Linked DNA regions of Homo sapiens: region 2 is linked to region 1. The links are contacts of gene promoters, found by promoter capture Hi-C in blood cells and fetal thymus (Javierre and others, 2016). All regions are on one chromosome and are shown on one strand. The core of a region is centred on a gene start or on the middle of the fragment in contact, and the rest is flanking DNA. Distances in the headings are between cores, read along the strand shown. Region 1 holds the start of TALDO1 (transaldolase 1). Region 2 has its middle 6.4 kb from the start of PKP3.

Region 1 (6,302 bases), core at 2,822-5,321:
AGCCTCCCGAGTAGCTGGGACTACAGGCACCTGCCACCATGCCCGGCTAATTTTTTGTATATTTAGTAGAGACAGGGTTTCACTGTGTTAGCCAGGATAGTCTCGATCTCCTGACCTCGTGATCTGCCTGCCCCGGCCTCCCAAAGAGCTGCGATTACAGGCGTGAGCCACTGCACCCAGCCTAATTTTTGTATTTTTAGTAAAGACGGGGTTTCACCATGTTGGCCAGGCTGGTCTCGAACTCCTGACCACAGGTGATCACCTGTCTCGACCTCCCAAAGTGCTGGGATTACAGGCGCGAGCCACCGTACCCAGCCTTTGTTCCACTTTCATTCCCACCAGCAGCGCATGGGTGTTCCTGGAGCTCCATGTCCTCACTGGCACTTGGTGTTGCCAGTCTTTTGTTCTCACTATGATCCATGTGGACAGATCTCATGGTGGTTTTCATTTGCATTTCCCTAATAAATACTGTATACCACCAAGCTTGTCCAGCCCTTGGCCTGCAGGCCGCATGTGGCCCAACACGAATTCGCAACCTTTCTTAGAACATGAGATTTTTTATTTGCAATTTTTTTTAAGCTCATCAGTTATTGTTAGTATATTTTACATGTGGCCCAAGACAGTTCTTCCAGTGTGGCAAGGGAAGACAAAAGATGGCTACCTGCTCTATACCTTCTTCTGTGATGTATATTTCCTATTTTTGCATTTCAATGGAGAGAAGAAAGTCCTCTCAACAGATGCTGGAACAGGTGGAGAAAAACTACTTTCCATATCCAGGTCACGGAGACAAAAATAAAGGGGGCCAGGCGCGGTAGAGAAAAACTACCTTCCACTTCTAGGTCACAGAGACAAAAATCAAGGGGGCCCTGTGCGGTGGCTCATGTGAAACCCCGTCTCTACTAAAAATACAAAAAATTAGCCGGGCGTGGTAGTGGGCGCCTGTAGTCCCAGCTACTCGGGAGGCTGAGGCAAGACAATGTCATGAACCTGGGAGGCGGAGCTTGCAGTGAGCCGAGATCGTGCCACTGCACTCCAGCCTGGGCGACAGAGGGAGACTCCGTCTCAAAAAAAAAAAAACAACAAAAAAAAAACAAACAAACTGGAGTGGCCTCAAAGACTCTTAACATAACAGCTGAAAACCAAGACATCATAAGAAAATATTTTTGAGGCCGGGCGCGGTGGCTCACGCCTGTAATCCCAGCACTTTGGGAGGCCGAGGCGGGCGGATCACGAGGTCAGGAGATCGAGACCATCCTGGCTAACACGATGAAACCCCGTCTCTACTAAAAATACAAAAAATTTAGCCGGGCGAGGTGGCGGGTGCCTGTAATCCCAGCTACTCGGGAGGCTGAGGCAGGAGAATGGCGTGAACCCCAGGGGGCGGAGCCTGCAGTGAGCCGAGATTGCGCCACTGCACTCCAGCCTGGGCGACAGCGAGACTCCGTCTCAAAAAAAAAAAAAAAAAAAAATATTTTTGTTGGCTGGGCGTGGTGACTCACGCCTATAATCCCAGCACTTTGGGAGACTAGGGTGGGCGGATCACGAGGTCAGGAGATTGAGACCATCCTGGCTAACACGGTGAAACTCTGTCTCTACTAAAAATACAAAAGTTAGCTGGGCGTTGGCCGGGCGCAGTTGCTTAACACCTGTAATCCCAGCACTTTGGGAGGCCGAGGCAGGTGGAACACGAGGTCAGGAGTTTGAGATCAGCCTGGGCAACACGGTGAAACCCCGTCTCTACTAAAAATACAAAAGTAGCCGGGCATGGTGGCCCATGCCTGTAATCCCAGCTACTCGGGAGGCTGAGGCAGGAGAATCGCTTGAACCTGGGAGGCGGAGGATGCGGTGAGCTGAGATCGCGCCATTGCACTCCAGCCTGGGCAACAAGAGTAAATCTCCATCTCACCAGAAAAAAAAAAAAATTTGTCACTTTGGAGCAAGCAAAGACTCCTTAGAGAAGATACCAAAAAAGAGGAGTAAATATAAAATTAAAACTTGATAAATTGAACTTAATCAAAATAAAAAGCTAACGTTCATTAAAGACACTATTAAAATGAAAAGGGAACACATGCTGAGAGGAAGTATTGAAACCACCTTTGCAAAATTATAACTAAGGAAATTATGACAGTGAAAGATAACAGACTTAACCAATTCCATCTTGTTTCTAACCTTCAAACGGTCCTTGTCCATTACTGGCCATAGGCCAAACAAGTCTTGGGAAGGAATTTAATTTATAGTTTAAATAATAGCCCTTCCCCAAAACTAGACTGTTCTTGTAAAATGAATGAAAGGCCACCAGCCACCAAGTTAGAATGAGAGGGGCTGGAAGTCTAAATATTATCAGCCATTATTCTGGAGGTCATAAGATAAGATTTGCAACTTCCCCAAGATATCAACACTACTGTGAACCTAGGGTTGGCCTTTTTTTTTTTTTTAAATGGAGTCTCGTTCTGTAGCCCAGGTTAGTGTACAGAGGGACAATCTCGGCTCACTGCAACCTCCACCTCCCAGGTTCAAGCCATTCTCCTGCCTCAGCCTCCCAAGTAGCTGGGATTACAGCCATGTGCCACCACGCCTGGCTAATTTTGTATTTTTAGTAGAGACGGGGTTTTGCATGTTGGCCACGCTGGTCTCCAACTCCTGACCTCAAGTGATCGCCTGCTTTGGCCTTTCAATGTGCTGGGATTCCAGGCCTGAGCCACCGCGTCAGCCTAGGATTTGCCTTTTAAGAAGTCTTTTCCGCCGGGCGCGGTGGCTCACGCCTGGAATCCCAGCACTTTGGGAGACTGAGGTGGGCGGATCACGAGGTCAGGAGATCGAGACCATGCTGGCCAACATGATGAAACCCCGTCTGTACTAAAAATACAAAAATTAGCCGGGCGTGGTGGTGAGCGCCTGTAATTCCAGCTACTCGGGAGGCTGAGGCAGGAAAATCGCTCGAACCCGGGAGGCGGAGGTTGTAGTTAGCCAAGATCGCGCCACTGCACTCCAGCCTGGGCAACAAGGGCGAGATTCCGTCTCAAAAAAAAAAAAAAGTCTTTTCAGGTTTTTGCATTTCTGACAACCGGATGGCCCCACCTGGACCTGCCAACCAGTTGTGTGGCCTCTACCCAGGGACTGACTCAGCATAAGCGGACAGCTTCGACTCCCTGTGATTTCATCCCTAGCTGACCAGTCAGCACTTCTGACTCACTGGCCCCCTACCCACCAAATTATTCTTAAATACTGGGATCCCCGAGTTTTGGGGAGACTGATTTGAGGAATAAAACTCTGGTCTCCCGAACAATCGGCTCTGTGTGAATTATGCTTTCTCTATTGCAATTCCCCTGTCTTGACAATAGACTCTGTCCCGGCAGCTGGCAAGGCGAACCCATGGGGCGGTTACAGTGTCTGCAACGCAGACACAAGCGACAGAGACTTGATCAGAATATACAAGGAACTCTGCAAGTCAGCGATGGTAAGAAGCAGGGCAGCTGGGCCTCCTACGCCTGCCTCGCCGTTCGGTCCCCCGGACACCTCTGGGCTTAGGACTCAGGGGAACAGATTCCCAGAAGCAGGTTCCCCGCCGCGTCCGGCGCCCGGGCTCTGCAGCCGCCCCCTGCTCTGCCTCCTGCACCCGCAGGGCGTCCCCCGCCGCTCCCTCCCCTGCTTCCTGCAGCGGCCCCCGACCCCAGTCCTGGCCCCACCATGGATCCTGCATCGCCGGGTTCGGCCCTGGCGGGTTCAGCCCCGCAGAGTCGGCACCCGGGCCAGGTCCATCTCCTCCAGCCCTCCCGGTGCGTCCCGCGGGGCAGGAAGGAGGCGAGGCCCAGCCGCCCCGTGTCGTGCAGGTGTTTTCCCGGGCCCGTCCGCGGCGGCTGCTGAGGACCTGGGGAGACCCAGCCTGTAGGATCCGCAGCTGCGGTGCGCGGCCGGCAGTGGCGCTCGGGCTTCGTCCCCGGGGGCGGGGCTTCGTCCAGGCGCGCAGGGACCAGCGGGCCTCGCCCTCCCGCGCCGCTTTCCGATTGGCAGCCGCCCGCGGGGCATTGTGGGCCGTCCGCGCGCCCGTCCCGTCGCCGCCGCCGCCGCCGCAGACCCCTCGGTCTTGCTATGTCGAGCTCACCCGTGAAGCGTCAGAGGATGGAGTCCGCGCTGGACCAGCTCAAGCAGTTCACCACCGTGGTGGCCGACACGGGCGACTTCCACGGTGAGGACGGCGCGGAGCCCGGGCGCGGCGCAAGCGCCCTCCAGAGGCCCCGGCGCCCCGATTTCCCCGGGTCTCCCGTTCCGGGACGCGGACCGGGTGGCGGTGCCCCGGGCGGCTCGTTCCGGGAGGAATGAGCGCAGGTGCCGGATGTTGGGGCCAGGGACAGCCGTGAGGGGAGCGGGGCCCGGGTCGGCCGTGAGAGGCGCAGGGCCAGCGGCGACCGTGAGGGGAACGGGGCCCGGGTCGGCCGTGAGGGAGCAGGGCCGGGGGCAGCCGTGAGGAGCTGGGGTCAGCCGTGAGGGGCTCGGTGCTGGGGTCAGCGGTGCGGGCGGTACTGACGGGTCCTTGCGAGCCGTGGGGCACGAAGCCGGAGCCCCAGCCTCGCCCTCCGCCCAGGGTGGGGTCGGCTGCGCCCTCAGACCCCGCACCCGGGACGGGCTGTGGGCAGCCCGCGGGAGCCCCTCTGTGCACCTTCATGGGTCGAGGCAGCTTTCAGAGCCTTTGAGTTCAGGAGAGATTCAGGGTAGAGCTTCGAGCTGACTTCCACGTGGCCAGTTTGTGGTCAGCGAGATGCAATTTTGTTGGGCTGATGTCTGCAGAGCGGGGACATCAGCTAGCTCTGACCAGAAGCTGCCAGTGCTGCCATCGCCCTTGAGCCCTGCGGTGCCCAGTGGGACAACTCCGTGGGCGGCAGGTGCCCGGCCTGCTGGACAGCCACCGCCAGACGCACCGGGTGGGTAAAAGCCGGTGCCCATGAAAGCACAGGGTTGGTACACTGTTAAATACTGGATTTTCCTGGGCTTGAGTTGTTTACATTGGAGAGAACTTGGAAAATACAAAGAAGGATTATTTATTAATACTTAGCTCTTCTGTCCTCTGCAGTGCAGAGTAGACGAGCCTTGTGTCTATGTTTTGTTGAGAACAAGTAATATTTTTTAAGAAAATCATGAAACGCTTCATGGATGAATGCTGCGAGCACCTAATACGGAAGTGACTTCCTCTCTTTTCTGCTTTCTCATGGTGACTTGAGAAACAGGCTTTAATTCCTCTTTGGTAACTGAGTAAGGGCATTGTTTATCTAGCAGAGCCTAGAGAGTGAATTGGCATGTTTGGCTGCTTAACCATAAAATATGGGGATTCAGTGACTGGCTTGGGGTGCCACAGTCTGCTCCGGACCCCTCTTTGGGAGATCCAAAGCTAGAGCTGTGAATCCCTCACACACACAGCCCCCCCGTTGTAGTCCAGACCTCTCTTCATAAGAAAGAAAGCTCCAGAAAAGGGGCTACACATTTTTCTGCTGCTCAGTTTTTTCCCTTCTTAGCACTGAGAATAATTTGCAGTTTGCCTGGTGGACAGAGCGCTCATCTGTATTGTTCCTTACTGGCCCTCACCAGTTAGGGCAGAGCTGGTGCGGAGTGTCAGGTCCATTACACTTGGCAGTGCAGGGCCAATAAAGATGGATTTTCCTAAACCCACACCCACAGGAGGGCTGGGGAGTCCTGGGTTTCTGGTTTTGTTTTGTATTGTTTTTTAAGAAAACTTCTGGCCCAGCGAGGTGGCTCACGCCTGTAATCCCAGCACTTTGGGAGGTTGAGGCAGGTGGATCACGAGGTCAGGAGTTCGAGACCAGCCTGACCAACATGGTGAAACCCCGTCTCTACTAAAAATACAAAAATTAGCTGGGTGCGGTGTTGCATGCTTGTAATCCCAGCTACTTGGGAGGCTGAGGCAGGAGAATTGCTGAACCCAGAAGGCGGAGGTTGCAGTGAGCCAAGATCACACCACTGCACTCCAGCCTGGGCGACAGAGCAAAACTCCGTCTCAAAAAAAAAAAAAAAAAAATCTTCTAAACCCAAGTTGTGACATTTTTTTTTAATGAATATTAACAAAAAAATACATTCATTGATAGTATATGTTCATAAATGTTATATAGTTGTAAAATAGTCTGTTGGGTTTGTGATCTGTAGTTTGTGAAGTGAAGGTTCTTAACTCCTTGTGGGAGGGAGGCACAGGCCTCTGGAAATAGAATCAAAGCTGTGAATGCTCTTCCCACAATGTGATCCTCCCCATTTTGCATTCAGTTTAAGGATCCCTGGACCCTGAAACCCATTTTTGC
Region 2 (6,302 bases), core at 2,054-4,553, 360 kb before region 1:
GAACTGCAGGGGGATCTTGTGGTGACATCGCCTCCCTCTGCCCCGGATGCCGACCCGGGCTCTGTGAGGGCCGAAAGTCTTCACCCCAGGCTGCAAGGAGGCGGACAGGGGAGCAGGATGACTGCAGGAGCAGCAGTGGCGGCAGCAGGTCCCCAGTGCCCCATGTCCCCAAGGCTGCCGACGGTGCCACCCCCACCCTCACACAGCTGGGCAAGACCCACTCCCAGGCCTGGAACCCCCACAGCCGGGCAAGACCCACTCCCAGGCCTGGAACCCCCACAGCCGGGCAAGACCCACTCCCAGGCCTGGAACCCCCACAGCCGGGCAAGACCCACTCCCAGGCCTGGAACCCCCACAGCCGGGCAAGACCCACTCCCAGGCCTGGAACCCCCACAGCCGGGCAAGACCCACTCCCAGGCCTGGAACCCCCACAGCCGGGCAAGACCCACTCCCAGGCCTGGAACCCCCACAGCCGGGCAAGACCCACTCCCAGGCCTGGAACCCCCACAGCCGGGCAAGACCCACTCCCAGGCCTGGAACCCCCACAGCCGGGCAAGACCCACTCCCAGGCCTGGAACCCCCACAGCCGGGCAAGACCCACTCCCAGGCCTGGAACCCCCACAGCCGGGCAAGACCCACTCCCAGGCCTGGAACCCCCACAGCCGGGCAAGACCCACTCCCAGGCCTGGAACCCCCACAGCCGGGCAAGACCCACTCCCAGGCCTGGAACCCCCACAGCCGGGCAAGACCCACTCCCAGGCCTGGAACCCCCACAGCCGGGCAAGACCCACTCCCAGGCCTGGAACCCCCACAGCCGGGCAAGACCCACTCCCAGGCCTGGAACCCCCACAGCCGGGCAAGACCCACTCCCAGGCCTGGAACCCCCACAGCCGGGCAAGACCCACTCCCAGGCCTGGAACCCCCACAGCCGGGCAAGACCCACTCCCAGGCCTGGAACCCCCACAGCCGGGCAAGACCCACTCCCAGGCCTGGAACCCCCACAGCCACCTCAACCTCGCTTCCTGCCGTGTCCCGGGAGCCCGTGAGCACCCAGCTGAAGGCACAGCCGGGTCTCGTGGAACCAGCCCTGGGAGCAGTGGGTTTATTTGTGCAGGGTTGGCAGGGCGGGAGCACCACGGGGGCAGCTGCAGCCAGCCAGGTTGCTGCTGTGTGGACCCAGGCCTCCTGGTGGTCTTGGGGGCCAGGGAGGACCCCCTAACACCACAGGCTTGGGGGTGTCCCTGCTCCTGGCGCCCACTCTGATCTTGGAGTGGGGTCGGGGCCAAGCCCGGGTGTTGTTGCAGCCCAGCCGGGTGTGCACCCTCAGAGCAGTGCCGAGATGCCAGTCCCCTGCCACCTCAGCCCCTCCAGACTTTGGGCACCAATGAGTGTGGGAGGGAGGCCAAGATGGAGCTGGGGGCAGCTCAGTGCTGGCCTGTGGGCACCCCTTGGCACGAGCGGCCTGGGCACCATGGGCGGCAGTGGGAGGCAGACAGGCTCCTGGGAGGGAATGGGCAGGTCCCTGGTGAGGCTCCACCTTCAAGCCAGGGTGGGCCTGAAGGCTGGGGGCCAGGCTGACAGTCCTGAGGACCACAGTGGGGACTTGTGGTGCCTTTTCCGGGCCCACCCATGGCTGCCCATGCACCAGTTGGCATGAATTTCCTCCCCTCTGAGGCCCATAAAAGCCCTGGGTTCAGCCAGAGTGGAGAAGAGGACAGAGAGACGACGGGATGACCAGCTGCAGAAAGGAGCTACCCTCACTAGGGCCTCCTCTTTGCTGAGCATTGCAGGCCTTGGGTCAACCAACTGCAGAGAGGAGTTACCCTCTCTGCTGATAGCTGCAGGCATTGGGTCGACCAACTGCAGAGAGGAGCTGCCCTCTCTGCTGAGAGCTGAACACTCGTTGGGACGACCTTCCTGCAGAGAGGAGCCACTCACTCCCAGCCTCCTCTCTGCTGAGAGCCTCTGAGCCGTTCTGACACTTAATAAAGCTCCTCTTCGTCTTGCTCACCCTCCACTTGTCTGTGTACCTCATTCTTCCTGGACACAGGACAAGAACTCAGGCAAAGGTGCTCCTGGCCACAGAGGTTTCTGGCCAGAAAAGCAACACCCCAAATATCCCACAACATGTTTGGGGGCTCGTCTGGGATCTGCACAAGGGTAAGTAAAAGTGGATCTTCTCTTTCTGTCCTTTCTTCGTGGTCCTTAAACTCAACAGCTAAAATGAAAGAAAAATACCAGGCCTCTGTCAATTAGTTAAAAGTGACGACTAGTCTCCAAGCACCAGACTCAACACATGGAGGCCAGGCTTGCTGGGGAGGACACTGTCAAGCCCCCATCACCCTCAGGTATTGGGAATGTTGGCTTTGTTCCAACCCAGTTTTCCTTCATGGAGGTCTAGCTGTCACGTGGGACCAGAAGGAGGTCCTAGAGCAACTGGGGGTATTTGGCTGAGGTTACCCCTTGGAGTTATCCAAAGGCCCCTGGACTGACTCCAGTCCCCAGCCTCCCATGAGGGTGTTGGCACAAAGACCTCCACTCTTTCCTATCATTCTTTTCTGTCTTTCTTTTGTGGCTGTCATGGTTCCTATCTCTTCTTTATGTACAATGTTAAATGTTAAGGATGTTGTTGCAAACCAGAAATATTACTGGGTAGAATGAGCATTTGACTGAGTCATCAAAACTATAAAATGGAAGGTTAAGAATAGCACAGACGAAGTAAAGTGTGCCTTGGTATCTGTATGTAAATTTGTGGCAAAAATGTTCTTGTTATTTCCTTGGCCGCCAACTTGGTGCCAAGCACCTTGAGACCCAGAAAAGAAGCATGGTCTCAGGAAGGAAGCTTTTCTGTAAACGTGAGACCCAGAAGAGAAGCATGGTCTCAGGAAGGAAGCTTTTCTGTAAGTGTAAGACACAGAAGGGAAGCATGGTCTTGGGAGGAAGCTTTTCTGTAAATGTGAGGGCCAGTGATCCCAGGCCTCGTGTGTGCAGGCTTTCTTTGCCTTGCAGGGTAACTTGGACCTTTGCCTCTACTGTAGGATTGATCCAGCCCTCCTGGTGGCCATCTCAGGAGAGGCTGCAAGAGGCAATCCCAGGGAAATAGAGAAGCAAACCCCAGAGGCACCTCCAGTGGAGGAATCAAACCCTTCACTCCTCCCTACTCAGGTTCTCTCTCAAGCTTTCCCCAGCCTAGAAATCCTCATTTTAGGCCATTCTGAGTCAAATTAAGGGGGATCTTGGCAAGTTTTCAGATGGCCCTGACAGATACATGGAGGCTTTCCAGAACTTAACCCAAGTATTTGAGCTCTCCTGGAAGGATATCATGTTACTTCTGAATCAAACCCTGACTGCTGAAAAGCAGGCCACCCCGCAAGCGGCAGAGAATTTGGGGGATGAGCTGTATATCTTATATAGGGCCAGGGAAGAAGAGAAGCTTTATCCAATTGGATGAATAGCAGTACCATTGGAGGACCCTAAATGGGACCCCAGTGATAAAATGGGAGAATGGAGGATGAAACACTTTCAGATGTGATACTGGAGGGCTTGTGAGGGAATGGGACTGGGCTTCTCATTGCACTTGGCTGGAGGGCTTATGAGAGAAAGGGGCTGGGCCTCTTGATTGCACCAGGCTGTCCATGGTAGAGCAGGGATTGGCCCCACTGCCTTCCTGGGGGATGGCAGGGGCCTTGGTGAAGTGTGCCTCTCTGTCTCCTGACTCAGTCAATGAACGGCTGGTCCTAGGGGATGAGGAGATGAGTTCATTGCACAGGCGGCCCCTGATGTCAGAAGGAGGATGCGGGAATGGGCTGTGGGACCAGATGGTACTTTGGGGGCATCCTGGGAGGGGCCACCTCAGTTTTTTCCAGTGGGAACCGGGAGGAAGTCCAGAAAAGAGAGAGGAGATATAGGAAGAAGGCAAAGGCTCTTAACAGCTGCCCTGTGGGCTCATGGACCCCAGGATCCCTAGATACACCTGTGACTGCTGCAAATGTGTTGGGCTAGGGCCCCACAGGAGGGTTTCCAGACAGTGCAGGGAGGAGGGTCCTTCATGAGGGTTTCCACACAGTGCAGGGAGGAGGGTCCTTCAGGAGGGTTTCCACACAGTGCAGGGAGGAGGGTCCTTCAGGAGGGTTTCCACACAGTGCAGGGAGGAGGGTCCTTCAGGAGGCTTTCCAGACAGTCCTGGGAGGAGGGTCCTTCAGGAGGGGCTTTCCAGACAGTGCAGGGAGGAGGGTCCTTCAGGAGGGGCTTTCCAGACAGTGCAGGGAGGCCACCTTGACCCTGTCCAGTTTGCCTTGGGGACTGTAGGGTCCAGCCCTACGGGGCTTAGTGGGTGTTCTCCCCATGTGCGGAGACCAGAGATTGTAATAAATAAAGGCACAAGACAAAGAGATAAAGAGAAAGCAGCTGGGCCTGGGGGACCACTACCATCAAGACGCGGAGACCAGTAGTGCCCTGAACGGCTGGGCGCGCTGATATTTATTGCATACAAGACAAGGGGGCAGGATAAGGAGGGTGAATCTTCTAAGTGATAAGGTGAAGCAAGTCACCTTACGGTGACCCTTCCCTCTTAGGTAGCCGAAGTAGAGAGGAAAGGCAGCATACATCAGTGTTGTCTTCTATGCAGTTATAAGAACGATCAAAGACTTTAAGACTTTCACTATTTCTTCTACCGCTATCTACTACGAACTTCAAAGAGGAACCAGGAGTACGGGAGGAGCATGAAAGTGGACAAGGAGTGTGATCATTCAAGCACCACAGGGAGGGGGTTAGGCCTCCGGATGACTGCGGGCCAGGCCTGGAGAATATCCAGCCTCCCACAAGAAGCTGGTGGAGCAGAGTGTTCCCCGACCTCTCCAAGGAAAGGAGACTCCCTTTCGCGGTCGGCTAAGGAACGGGTGCCTTCCCAGGCACTCGCGTTACCGCTTGACCAAGGAGCCCTCAAGCGGCCCTTATGTTGGCGTGACAGAGGGCTCACCTCTTGCCTTCTAGGTCACTTCTCACAACGTCCCTTCAGCACCTGACCCTATACCCACCGCTTATTCCTAGGTTATATAGTAATGGAACAAAGAGTAATATTAAAAGCTAATGACTAATAATGTTTATAATAATGATTGATAATTGTCCATGAGCATCTCTATATCTAATTTGTATTATGACTATTCTTATTCTATTTTCTTTATTATACTGAAACAGTTTGTGCCTTCAGTCTCTTGCCTGGGCACCTGGGTCATCCTCCGCCCACAGGGGACCGCTGGAGGACAGACCATCCCTGGAGACGTGGGTTGCCGGACCTCGGGCCAGTCTCCCAAATGGTACAGCAGGACTGATGGGTCCCCAGCCTCCTCTCCCCAGCTACAGTCGTCCAGACCACCATTGCCATCCAGGAACCCCAGGGATTGTAGGGGTCAAGGGAAGGAGGATGGACCTCGTCCTGGACTCCAGAGTTCTCCTCTCCAATCTGGGCCCCCCTCCCCATCTCTTGGCACAACTGTGAGTGGCATCTCAGGCCTCCTTCCTCCACCATGTCAGGAATCAACACAGTCTTGTGAATACAGGGACCTCTCCATGGAGGGGTTAGCTTTTTTCCTTTCAGAAGGCACCTTCTTAGGCCAGGCCCCCGATTCCCAGGACTTCCCTCCTCCGCCTTGTTTGAGGAGGACCTGGCCCCACAGCGCCACCTGTTTATAACAGGAAAGCAACAGGAGCGGCCGCCACCTGTTAGCAGCTGCAATTTGGTGAGGAACACTTGGGGCTAACTGAATGGGTCCACACACCGTCCTGAGGCCAGACCCCAGGAGAACCCCCGGGAGATGCCCCGCCTGCCTCAGACAGACGCCCCCTTCCCCAGAGGAGCGCCGGGGTCCTGAGGCCAGACCCCAGGAGAACCCCCGGGAGATGCCCCGCCTGCCTCAGACAGACGCCCCCTTCCCCAGAGGAGCGCCGGGGTCCTGAGGCCAGACCCCAGGAGAACCCCCGGGAGATGCCCCGCCTGCCTCAGACAGACGCCCCCTTCCCCAGAGGAGCGCCGGGGTCCTGAGGCCAGACCCCAGGAGAACCCCCGGGAGATGCCCCGCCTGCCTCAGACAGACGCCCCCTTCCCCAGAGGAGCGCCGGGGTCCTGAGGCCAGACCCCAGGAGAACCCCCGGGAGATGCCCCGCCTGCCTCAGACAGACGCCCCCTTCCCCAGAGGAGCGCCGGGGTCCTGAGGCCAGACCCCAGGAGAACCCCCGGGAGATGCCCCGCCTGCCTCAGACAGACGCCCCCTTCCCCAGAGGAGCGCCGGGGGCATAGCAAGAGC

What was found. The method cuts DNA at HindIII sites, captures the fragments that hold promoters and counts their contacts. A CHiCAGO score of 5 or more calls a contact.
Region 2: a contact is called between a fragment that was not itself captured here and the fragment with the promoter of TALDO1 in region 1, in 3 of 17 cell types (naive B cells, total B cells and total CD4 T cells). The highest score is 5.4, in naive B cells.

What each region holds. Positions count from the first base shown.
Region 1 is chr11:743,393-749,694 of GRCh38, forward strand. It overlaps TALDO1 (transaldolase 1), which reads left to right and starts at 4,072. Exons shown (of 8, transcript NM_006755.2): 1 at 4,072-4,186. The coding sequence starts at 4,090. It overlaps LOC105376509 (a long non-coding RNA gene), which reads left to right. Exons shown (of 3, transcript XR_930962.3): 3 at 3,357-3,570. RefSeq lists enhancers at 1-278, 279-977, 3,056-3,704, 3,343-3,402, 3,705-4,353 and silencers at 3,533-4,132, 4,193-4,482, 4,583-4,672. The HindIII fragment of the contact is 13,110 bases long and covers 482-6,302 here.
Region 2 is chr11:384,701-391,002 of GRCh38, forward strand. No RefSeq gene overlaps it. Among named protein-coding and RNA genes, the nearest start is that of PKP3, 6.4 kb to the right of the region's middle. The HindIII fragment of the contact is 255 bases long and covers 3,177-3,431 here.